3 separate regions of the Homo sapiens genome follow, and all the other regions are linked to region 3. Evidence: promoter capture Hi-C in human tissues and cell types (Jung and others, 2019). All regions are on one chromosome and are shown on one strand. Each heading gives the region's core, a stretch centred on a gene start or on the middle of the fragment in contact. The rest is flanking DNA. Distances are from core to core; before and after follow the strand shown.

The links. Contacts are between HindIII fragments. The study calls those that stand out against the background at their distance.
Region 1: a contact is called between a fragment that was not itself captured here and the fragment with the promoter of PKN3 in region 3, in 1 of the 25 tissues and cell types used here (dorsolateral prefrontal cortex).
Region 2: a fragment that was not itself captured here is called in contact with the fragment with the promoter of PKN3 in region 3 in 1 of the 25 tissues and cell types used here (aorta).

What each region holds. Positions count from the first base shown.
Region 1 is chr9:128,342,095-128,346,136 of GRCh38, reverse strand. SLC27A4 (solute carrier family 27 member 4) reads right to left here. Exons shown (of 13, transcript NM_005094.4): 2 at 2,844-3,010; 3 at 588-982. The coding sequence starts at 3,004. It also overlaps the pseudogene TMSB4XP4. Among named protein-coding and RNA genes, the nearest start is that of SLC27A4, 3.6 kb to the right of the region's middle. The HindIII fragment of the contact is 5,235 bases long and covers 1-3,957 here.
Region 2 is chr9:129,040,264-129,044,065 of GRCh38, reverse strand. MIGA2 (mitoguardin 2) reads right to left here. Exons shown (of 16, transcript NM_001329990.2): 2 at 3,376-3,614; 3 at 1,552-1,762. The coding sequence starts at 3,471. Among named protein-coding and RNA genes, the nearest start is that of MIGA2, 5.5 kb to the right of the region's middle. The HindIII fragment of the contact is 5,202 bases long and covers 1-3,802 here.
Region 3 is chr9:128,700,186-128,704,241 of GRCh38, reverse strand. PKN3 (protein kinase N3) reads right to left here and starts at 1,739. Exons shown (of 22, transcript NM_013355.5): 1 at 1,303-1,739. The coding sequence starts at 1,326. RefSeq lists an enhancer at 923-1,462 and a silencer at 1,277-1,846. The HindIII fragment of the contact is 13,608 bases long and covers 1-4,056 here.

The DNA.
Region 1 (4,042 bases), core at 91-2,590, 360 kb after region 3:
TTGAACTCAAGAGTCTGAGACCAGCCTGGGCAACATGGCAAAACTGAGTATCTACAAAAAATGTGAAATTTAGCCAGGCATGGTGGTGCATGTCTGTGGTCCCAGCTATTCAGGAGGCTGAGGTGGAGGGACTGCTTGAGCCTGAGAGGTCAAGGCTGCAGTGAGCTGTGACTGCACCACTGCACTCCAGCCTGGGTGACAGGGCAAGACCCTGTCTCAAAAAAATTTCTTAGTAGAGACAGGGTCTTACTATGTTGCCTAGGCTGGTCTCAAACTCCTGGGCTCAAGGGATCCTCCTGCCTTGGCCTCCCAACATGCTGGGATTACAGCTGTGAGCCACTATGCCCAGTCTGAAGTACCTTTTTGAAAACAGTATGAGGTAGGAACGACGGATGAGGAAACTGAGGCTCAGAGAAATCAGTCCCTTCCCCAGGATCTCGTTTACTCGTGGCACTGCCTAAGCTGTCTGACTCCACTCTGTGCCCTTAACCACTGACCCACACAGCCTTGGCAGGGCTGGAAGGGAGCTGTGGTCTGTGTAAGATCCCATGGGGTTCCTGCTTGTCCCCCGCCCCCTTGGGGCTCACCTGAGGCCATTTCGCTGCCAAAGACAAGGGCCCGTGCGCGCGAGGTGGTGAGGCAGTGGAGCAGAGCATCCCGCCGCAGGTTGGTGTTGATGAGGGCTGCCTCCACACCGAGCTTGGCCATGCCCAGCCATAGGCCCACGAACTCATTGCGGTTCTCCATGAAGATGGCAGCCACATCGCCCGAGGCCAGGCCCCGGGCCTGCAGGAAGTTGGCTACACTGCTTGAGTACTCATCCAGCTGGCGGAAGGTCCAGTGGGTATCTGTGCCCTCGAAGATCAGGGCCGTCTTGTCGGGGTGGCGCCGAACGGTAGAGGCAAACAAAATGGGCACTGTCCGCCGCTCCTGCAGGCACTGTCGCACCTTTGCCTTCACCTTCAGGAGGACCAGGCCGCCACTGTGTGTGAACAAGAGAGGGCGCTGTGTCTGCCATGGTTGGGAGGGAGGGGTCCTGACACCCTACCCCAGGCTGCTGCCTCGCCAGCCTATGCTTCATGAGCCAGACCCCCTACAACACTTCTATCTCCTGGCTCCTGCTGGGAACATGCACTGCCTTACTGATGCCTCTCAATAACACTGAGAGTTCGTATGATTCCCCTCCCCTTACACAGAAGGAAATCAAGGCTCTCGTGGTGCCGTGGCCTGCTCAAAGCTTCATGGATGGAGGGTGGCTGAGCTGAGATTTGAACTCTAGGCCTCTCTGGCTCCAGAGTTCTACTCCTACCCTCTCAGCCTGCTGCTCCAGCAGAAACCTCCTAGGTCTCCAGAGCTTCCTGTAAAAGTCCAAACTCCTTGTTTGGGGCCTCCCACAGTCCAGCTGCTCCCTCGACCCACCATGACCACAGTAAATAATGAATGAGTTTGCTGGTCTGTCCAGTCTTCCTCCCTGTGAGCCTAGCTGGGATAGGCTTCTGTCTTATTCAACACTCTATCCCCTGGGTCCTGTGCCAGGCAGAGTAGATGTTCAATAAGTTTGTGGAATCACTTGGCAACATCCCATTCCTGCCACCTTTGTTTTTTTGTTTTTTTTTTTGAGATGGCGTCACACTCTGTCACCCAGGTTGGAGTGCAGTGATGCAATGTCAGCTCATTGCAACCTCCACTTCCCAGGCTCAAATGATGCTCCCACCTCAGCCTCCCAAGTAGCTGGAACCACAGGTGTGCACCACCATGCCTGGCTAACTTTTTTGTATTTTGGTAGGGACGGGGTTTTGCCATGTTGCCCAGGTTAGTCTCAAACTCCTGAGGTCAAGTGATCCACCCACTTCGGCCTCCCAAAGTGCTAGGATCACAGGTGTGAGCCACTGCGCCCAGCCCTGGACTCCATGCCTTTGTTGCTGATGCTGTGCCTTCTGGTTGGATTCATCTCCTTCCACCACCACTAAGGCGCCTCTCAAGTACAGCCGCTTTTTCTCCAGGAGGCCTTCTCTGATTCCCAGGGTCCTGGCTGGCAGCTGTTTCTCCTTGCTCCATGCTCCCACAGCTACCACCCTTCCTGGTGTGCCACTCCGTGCCTTCTTTTGCAATCAACCAAGATTGACAAATGCTGAGCTGCCTGTGTGGGGTGTGGGTCACTGAACTGGGTGCTGGGACACAGTAGTGAGCAAGGCTGTGCCAGGGTCTCTGCCCACATGGCACTGCCAATTTACAGATGTGCTGTGTCCCTTTCTTTCTCCTGACCAATCTGAGCTTGGCAGATGGGGTCTGCCTTATTCCTCTCTGGACCCCAAAGCTAGCCTGGCACCTAGTAGAGAACAAGCGGGAATAGATATTTCTGGTACAGGATGTCCCTTGGAGCATACCGGGCTTTCTTTGGGGAGCAGGTTATCCCAGACATCTGAGTAGGGGCTCTGCTCTAGAACTCAGTGCCCCCTGTGCCATCTCACACCCCTGCCAACCTGAGGGCAGGGCCTTTCCCCAAAATTCCTCTTTACCCTTTCATAAACTTACAGAGTCCTCAGGACCCCTTGCAGATGTCTCAACACACTTGGTGTTCAATGTACGTCCTAGGCCAAGCCTGCCCAAGGCCTGGGAGCCTCAAGTTAGGGAGATTCCCTGGGAGAAGACTTTGACCTTGGAGATGGAGGGACCAGGTACTATTGCCAGGGTACGGGTGTGGAGCAGAGGCTGCTGTTCTGGAACTCAGCTCAGCTGCCCTGTGCTGGTAGAGAACATGAGGTCTGGCCTGGGGAGATTTGGGGGACCAGAAGCTCACTGTAGTGTGGCAGACCCCAGGAAAGGCTGGGCCAGGTACTCACAAGATATCGCGCCTGATGGTCTTGATGAAGACCCGGATGAAGCGCCAGCCGCCAGATCCCAAGTAGAGGAACAACAGGGAGAATCCCACCTGGGTCCAGGGCAGTTTCAGCACCAGCTTGGAGAACAGCAGCACCCCCACCAGAGAGGCTCCAAGCAGCATTGTGGCCTGCGGACACAGGGCAGTTAGTGGACCCAAACACCCAACCCTCCAGGTCTCCTACCTCCCAGCCCAGACAGCCAGGCCACTGTGATCCCAAGGGGACAGCCTGTGGTAAGGCTTAGCCATACTGAGTTGGGTGACTGACCACAGGGGTCCCTTTCCAGGCTTGGCCTGGAAGGGGCAGGCTAGGGGCTTGGCACTTGAGGTGAGGAATTCCAAGAGTGAGAAGCAGGAGGCTGGTTCTCGTCTCATAGTCCCATCTCTGCCCACCATTCTCCAAGTGACCTTGGGCAAGACCTTTTCACATTTTAGACCTTAGTATCTGCCCTCTGTGCAATGGGTGTAGTGAGACGTGTTCTTTTTTTTTTTAAGTTTTTAAACTTTTTATTTGCATATTAAAAAAACTGTGCATTCCAATAATTAAAATCATTTGAACAAAAAAAAAAATGGCACTCTGATTAAACTGCATTACAGCCTGCAGGACACCTTGGGCCAGCCTGGTTTTACTCTAGATTTCACTGTCGTCCCACCCCACTTCTTCCTTCACCAACAAGCAAGTTCTTTCCTTCCCTGCCAGCCAGATAGACAGATGGGAGAGGCAGGCGCAGCCTTCGTTGTCAGTAGTTCTTTGATGTGAAAGGGGCAGCATAGTCATTTAAACTTGATCCAACCTCTTTGCATCTTACAAAGTTAAACAGCTAAAAGAAGTAAAATAAGAAGGCAATACTTGTGGAATGTACAATGCATATTGGCGGTGCACGCCTCATTACGATTCGCTTGCTTGCTTCTCCTGTTCAATCGTTTCTTTGGAAGGCAGTGGATTTTTCTCTTGCATCTCTGTCTTCTTCAGTTTCGACTTATCGAATTTCTCAATCTCAGCCATATCGGGTTTGTCAGACATGGTTGCGGAGGAAAAGCGGAGCGAGGCATGCGAGAACGAGCGAAGTCTGGTCTGCGCAGTGGCCACCACCGAGTTGTCCTGAGACGTGTTCTAAGAGGCTTTTCTAGCCAAAACATGACAGTTCACTCTTCTGACAT
Region 2 (3,802 bases), core at 936-3,435, 340 kb before region 3:
GCAGAGACCAGACCACCGCACTCCAGCCTGGGAAACACAAGCGAAACTCTGTCTCAAAAAAAAAAAAGCCGGGCAGGTTGGCTCATGCCTGTAATCCCAGCACTTTGGGAGGCCGAGGCAGGCGGATCACGAGTTCAGGAGATCAAGGCCATCCTGGCTAATACAGTGAAACCCTGTCTCTACTAAAAATACAAAAAATTAGCCGGGCTTGGTGGCACGCACCTGTTGTCCCAGCTACTCCGGAGGCTGAGGCAGAAGAATCGCTTGAACCCGGGATGCAGAGGTTGCAGTGAGCCAAGATCATGCCACAGCACTCCAGCCCGGGTGACAGAGAGTGAGACTCCGTCTCAAAAAAAAAAAAGAGTAGAAAGATGGCCGGGGCCGGGTGCGGTGGCTCACACCTGTAATCCCAGGATTTTGGGAGGCTGAGGTGGGCGGATCACTTGAGCTCAGGAGTTCGAGAGCAGCCTGGCCAACGTGGCGAAATCCCGTCTCTACTAAAAATACAAAAATTAGCCAGGCATGGTGGCACGTGCCTGTAGTCCCAGCTTTTCGAGAGGCTGAAGCAGGAGAATCTCTTGAACCTAAGAGGCCGAGGCTGCAATGAACCGAGATTGTGCCACTGCCCTGCAGACTGGGTGACAGAGCAAGACTCCATCTCAAAAAAAAAAAAAAAAAAAAGAGAGAACAGAAGGAGTGTGATCTGTGACTGTGAGCAATCGACTGAGTGAACTCACTACCTTCCAACCAGCTGAATGATTCCTAACTATGGTGGTGGTCGGATGACTCTATGTGTCAAAGACACAGAATAGTATGCTAAAAAGTACGAATCTTACTGCATGCAAATTAACCCTCAAATTTTTTTTTTTTTTGAGACGGAGTCTCGCTCTGTCACCCAGGCTGGAGTGCAGTGGCGCAATCTCGGCTCACTGCAAGCTCCGCCTCCTGGGTTCACGCCATTCTCCTGCCTCAGCCTCCTGAGTAGCTGGGATTACAGGTGCCCGTCACCATGCCCGGCTAATTTTTTGTATTTTTAGTAGAGACGGGGTTTCACCGTGTTATTCAGGATGGCCTCGATCTCCTAACCTTGTGATCTGCCCGCCTCGGCTTCCCAAGGAGCTGGGATTACAGGCGTGAGCCACCGCGCCCGGCCTAAACCTCAATTTTTAAGAGAGAAGGGAATGGGAGGAATACTGCATCATTCAAGAACCACATGGCTCTTCCTGCTCCTCAGCCTGGGGAACATCCCTCTCTGGACCCAGGAGCCACATCCCCGACCCCCTCTGACCAAGGTGCTCCCAAAGGGTCCTCAGCTAATGAGAACAACCAAAACCACCTCCACCAATGGAGCATGCGCATCCAACCACATCACCCTCCAGTACAGTGACTGGAGGGAGGGACGCTACTGTCATCCCGCTCACAGATCAGGAGACCTTGGCTCTGAGACAGGAAGACACTGGCCCAATATCCCCAAGTAGAGAGTGACCCAGCTGGGATATGACCCCAGGATGTGACCTCAGGTCAGGCCTATGCCCACCACCTCACACCTACCTTTCTTCACTGAAGGGACCTTCCTGGCCAAGAGGATAGGGAGGGGCACCGTGCCCAGCTGCTCCCCTCCCATCTCGGGACCAACCTGCTTCTTCCTCCTCCGTCGCCTCTTCAGCTGGTGGGCAGCCAGGGCCAGGGCCACAGTCCCCAGGGCCGTGGCAAAGAGGACTTTCCGCAGGCCTGGCGTCAACCGTAGCTGGGAGAATGCAGACTGCAGGGAAGAGGAGACGCTGCCGGTTACACCTCCCTGGGGAAGGTCCAAGGCAGCAGGACCGCCCCAGAGCACCTCAGGGACGGGACACACACCGGCTCTCCGGCACATCTGCCGACCAGATGAGAGACTGAGAGGCAGCCACCCTAGACGGGGAAGTTGACCAGCCTCCCTGAAACACAGGCCACAAAAACATAAAGATGGCAAGATGCCAGTGCCGAGAAGGTGAGGTCTAGGGGCCAGCACCCTCAGTCATGAGCACACAAGCCGCAGTGAACAAGCACCAGCTGTGCCCGGCACTGCACTAGGACCTAGCCTGGGGTACCCATCTGAGTCCCTGTCATTTCCAGACGAGGAACCTGAGGTTCACCCACATGAAGACATATACTCAAGGTGACAGAGGCAGACATGAAACCCAGATCTGCTGACCCCCATTTCTCAGTGATGCCTCAAAGATGATGACACTCACTCACCTGCCACCCCATCTGAACAATTCCTACTGCTGCACCTCACCCTCTGCCCCCCAGGCCTGGGAGCCCCTCAGATGGGACTGTACCCCACAAGGCAGATCTTCGGTCAAGATCCCAGTCAGCCACAAACATGTGAGTTGTCAGGGAGGGCACTGACCCCTTTTACAGACTGAGTAACTGAGGTCAAGAGTTCATATAGGACCAGGTGCAGTGGCTCATGCCTATAAACCCAGCACTTTAGGAGGCCAAGGTAGGTGGATGGCTTGAGCCCAAGAGTTCAAGACCAGCCTGGGCAAAATGGCAAGGCCCTATTTCTATTACGAAAAACTTTTTTTTTTTTGAGACGGAGTCTTACCCTGTTGCCCAGGCTGGAGTGCAGTGGTGCGATCTCGACTCACTGCAACCTCCGCTTCCTGGGTTCAAGTGATCCTCCCGCCTCAGCCTCCCAAGTAGCTGGGATTACAGGCACCTGCCACCATGCCCAGCTAATTTTTTTTTTTTTGAGGCGGAGTCTCGCTCTGTCGCCCAGGCTGGAGTGTAGTGGCATGATCTCAGCTCATTGCAACCTCCGCCTCCTGGGTTCAAGCAATTCTGTCTCAGCCTCCCAAGTAGCTGGGACTACAGGTGCACACCACCATGCTTGGCTAATTTTTGTACTTTTGGTAGAGATAGCGTTTCACCATATTGGTCAGGCTGGTCTTGAACTCCTGACTTCAGGTGATCCACCTGCTTCAGCTTCCCAGAGTGCTGGGATTACAGGCATGAGCCACTGTGCCCAGCCTACCCGCCTAATTTTTGTATTTTTAGTAGAGACAGGGTTTCACCATGTTGGCCAGGCTGGTCTTGAACTCCTGACCTCAGGTGATCCGCCCGTCCCGGCCTCCCAAAGTGCTGGGATTACAGGCGTGAGCCATCGCACCCGGCCAATACAATTTTTTTAATTAATTAAAAAAAAAAGAGTTCGTATAGTCTCAGGCTAAAGAACAGGCCTGAAGCCTCAGACAACAAACCCAGTCCAAAGAGGAGACACCAGAGGTTTGGCAAAGCAAGAACGAGGGCTCAGCGTTCCTGGACACGGAGGAGCCCTTGGCTGAGCATGGAAGTGTTTCATAGACCAGAGGTACAACCCACCCTGATCCTTACCTGCCCAAACGTCGTGTACAGGAACACGGGGATCTCGGCCACCGTCATGGCCAGGGCCTGGATCATAGACGTGCCCTCGGCCCTCCGGAACGCCATGGCAGGGCCAATGCCCCAGGCAAAGTCCTCAGGGCCAAGAGCTTCCAAGGAGAACGTCTTCAACTGGTTGCCAGCTGGGTCCCAGGCACCATCCACGCCCCAGAAGGACAGGGACACACATACCAGAGGGCCCCTCCACAGAGCTAAGAGACAGATGACCAAGTCAGATAAGAGAACGTGCACACGGGAACATGCAGAAATGCACTCAAGAAGAGCGTCCATGGGGGAGGAGGCAGGAGCAAAGCTTGCCTCTGGAACCCCAGGCCTGGAATCAGGCCCCAGGCCTCTGCATCTGCCCGCCAGCAGGCAGCCCCACACCCACAGACCCTCT
Region 3 (4,056 bases), core at 490-2,989:
ACACCTCCTTTCCAGCCGCCAGCATTTCAAACCAACCGGTGCCAAAGGTGACCTCAGGCCGGGTAACCCATGATGCCCCGCAACACGGGCTGTTGCAGGAACCCCATCTTACCTCTCTGTGTTCCATCTTCTCCTGAGCCCAGTGGAAGGGGCCGCAACCCCAGACTCAGGGACCCCCCCACCCCAGACCTCAGCGGGGCCTGCTGGCCCAGCTGTCAGAGGGCAAGGGCGAGGCTCAGGAAATCCTCTGACCGCCCTAGGCCACAGGGCCAGAGCCAAAGACCGGAGCAAACAAAGGTCCCATGGAGCTGGGGGCCCGGCCACCGGGGTCCTGAGTCACCCAGCTGCCGCTGCAGGGCGGAGCCCCGCAGGAAATCGGAAAATGTGTACAAGCTACGTCTGGAACAGGCGGAGGGACCTCCAGAGGAAGGGGGTGGGAGGGGGCAGACCGAGCCCCAGCCCTGAAGGCGGCCTAAACGACTGGCTTGGGCGCTCAAGGAGTCTACACGCACCCCGCAACACCCCCATGGTCCCGTCTGCCCTGGGTTGGAACTCCAACATGGACACACACACCACCTCCTTTCCGCTCTTTGCGGGGACCCACTCCTGTCCGCAAATGCCCCCCTCCCAACCACTCGCTCCGGAACAGGACACCACCTCTCCCTCCTCAGGAGCAGATAGACATGGCCTCGGTCCTCCGGGCCCACGCGCACCTACTGCCAGCTCTGGCAGGAAACCCAGCCCCCTCCGCATTCTAGAACCCGCTATGTACCCAAAGGTTCCCGCCCTGGGGCGGGGGAGGCCGCTCCCCTCTCATCTACGCTCCCCTCGTGCCTCCTGTGCTCCGGGAAGGACTCCTGCCACTGCCAAGCGCGCACAGACTGCGCCCCCCGCTGCGCGCACATTCTAACCCCCCCAGGCCCCTGTGCCCCGCCTTTCTATCCCGGCTAATTCCCGTCGGCCTTGGAGCCCCACCGAGGAGAACCGACTTAAGGACACTCTGGGGACCACCCTGGTGGCGCACACTGCGGACTCAGCCGTCCTCGCTCACGGGCTGGTTGGGGTTCAGTCTCCGGGTCAGCCGCGGACTGATTTGGAGACTGTGCAAGGTCCAGGAACCACCGAACCCGGAGATCAGGTCTGCTCTGCGAGGGCGTCGCGGGGCCGGGGCCAGGGCAGGGGCAGGGAAGGGGCGCGGGTGAGGGGAGGATCGGGGGAAGCGGCCGCGGTTCGGGGCTCCGGGGCGATGACAGAGGCTTTCTCGCACCCCCCGGGCCCGCGCGCCCCTCCCACGCCGTTCACCTGCCGCGGCGCCCCCTCCTCCATGGCGCCGCTCCGGCCGCTTGGGGCCCTTCTCTCAGCCACTCCGGTCCCGGAAGCCGCAGACCCTCCGCCAGGACTTTCAAACTTGAAACTTCCCGGGAAGCGGCGCCGGAGACGCGGGATCGGGCGCCCCCTCCCGAGACCCGCTGGCCCGCGGGACCAGCGCCGCCTCCCGTCCGCGCCGATCCAGCGCCCGGGACCCCACGCCCGAGGTCCCGCGCCCCAGCGCCTCCCTCGGATCCAAAATTCCGCGGGATTCTGGGCCCAGTACCCGGGCTTCGGCGCCTGCGGTTCCCGCTGGGCGTGACCGCGCCTCACCCCCGGTTTGGACGCTCAGGAGGCACATCGCCCGCGCCCAGGTCCTCTGGCCTTCCCCGCCGCGCGCCCGCGGGAGCCGGCCAGTTAGGGACAGGGATGGGGGAAACAGCGCCCCCTGAAGGTTGCCGGGTCGCCCAGCCGGGTGCAGCCGGTGGAGCTGGCCGCCTCCTCTAACTTTGAGCCCCTCTACAACCTGGCTCCCGCCTCTAACGCGCTGGGCCTCCTCGACCAAGCCCCTCAAGTCTCTCTTTGTCTCGCACGTTGTTGGTGTAATGTGGGCTAATCCAAAATTGTCTCTCTCCTCGGAGTGGTTGGCCCAGACTAGATATTAGTCACTACAAGAATGTATACTAGGCCAGGTGCGGTGGCTCACGCCTGTAATCCCAGCAGTTTGGGAGGCAGAGGTGGACGGATCACGAGGTCAGGAGTTCGAGACCAGCCTGGCCAACATGGTGAAACCCCCGTCTCTACTAAAAATACAAAAATTAGCCGGTCGTGGTGGCGGGCGCCTGTAATCCCAGCTACTCAGGAGGCTGAGGTGGGAGAATCACTTGTACCCAGTAGGCGGAGGTTGCAGTGAGCCGAGATCCTGCCACTGCCCTCCAACCTGGGTGACAGAGCGAGACTCCATCTCAAAAAAAAAAAAAAAAAAAAAAAAAGAACGTATACTTGTGGAAAAGTAAATCCTCACCCAAAATTATGATAAATTACAAATTACAGATGAATGAACCAGACCTCTCTCCGGCCCATCTCTTACTCAGACTGAGCTTGCTGGTTCAGCCCGTGCCACTTTTTAGGGCTTTACCCTAAAAAGCCCATCCATCCACACGGGAGAAAAGCCATTTACACCTGGTGAAATAGCCGCCACTATTTCAGCCCAAGGGAGGTGTGCTGGTCACTGCCTAGTCTATGGCGGGCCATTCAGCCCGTCCTGGCATCCTGCGTTTACAGGAGGTTGTGTCAGCACTTCGTGGAGGAGCGTCCTCCAGGAGGTGGGAAGGTGATGAAGGGTCAAATACCGACAGTGACTTGGAACAGACAGGCTCTGGTGCTCTTACTGAATGAAGGAAGCCACATGTTGTGCTTTGCACTAATCACTTCCTTCATAATGGACTGGAAAAAAGTGAAATTGGTGAGCCATGGACAACACTGGGTTGTCCTGCTATGGGAAATCACCCAAGTGGCATTGACATATAAGCAAAGGCAACTTGGCTCTGTGAAACATGCCCAGATTTCATAATCAGAGGCGAAATGTGACATTTACACATTAGAGTTGTTGAGGTCTAGACATTAGCAGAAGCACCTGGCACATAGTAGGTTCTTTGACATGGGGGTTGGCTGGGCATGGTGGCTCATGCCTGTAATCCCAGCACTTTGGGAGGCTGAGGAGGGCAGATCACTTAAGGTCAGGAGTTCAAGACCAGCCTGGCCAACATGGTGAAATCCCGTCTCTGCTAAAAAAAAATTAAAAAGGCAGCTGGGCGCGGTGGCTCACGCCTGTAATCCTAGCACTTTGGGAGGCCGAGGCAGGCGGATCACAAGGTCAGGAGTTCGAGACCAGCCTGGCCAACATGGTGAAACCCCGTCTCTACTAAAACTACAAAAAAAAAATATTAGCTGGGCATGGTGGTGGGTGCCTGTAATCCCAGCTACTAGGGAGGCTGAGGCTGGAGAATCACTTGAACCTGGGAAGTGGAGGTTGCAGTAAGCCAATCTCGCCACTACACTCCAGCCTAGATGACAAGAGCAAAACTGCATCTCAAAAAAATACATAAAATAAAAAATTAGAAAAACTAGCTGGGCGTGGTAGCGCACGCCTGTAGTCCCAGCTACTCGGGAGGCTGAGGCAGGCAAATCACCTGAATCTGGGAGGCAGAGGTTGCAGCGAGCTAAGATCACGCCACTACACTCCAGCCTGGGCAACAGAGCAAGATTCTGTCTCAAGAAAAATAAATAAATAAAAATAAAATAAAATGGAGGTTAAATGAACGTTATTATCCATCATTTAGAAGCAAAAAGGCTGACCAAGCCCAGTGGCTCATGCCTGTAATCCTAGAACTCTGGGAGGCTGATGAGGCAGGAGGATTGCTTGAGGCCTAAGAGTTCAAGACCAACCTGGCCAACATAGTGAGACACCATCTCTTAAAAAAGTAAAATAAAGAAGTAAAAAAGTCCTCAGCTTCTCACTGCAGCTCATCAAAAACCCAGGAATCAAACTAACAAGCCTTCCCCACCTTTTAGGAATTCTCCAGTGGTGCAATCAGTCCAGCCAGCTAATTAACACTTTAAAATGTGTATTTGCCTTGATGGCTAAATGTTACTTCTGGAAGCCAAGAGTAATCTGAGATAACTCTCCATAGGAGGGTGCTCACATCTCAACTCCCGGCTCATTTATCCACTCACTGCAGGCAGGAA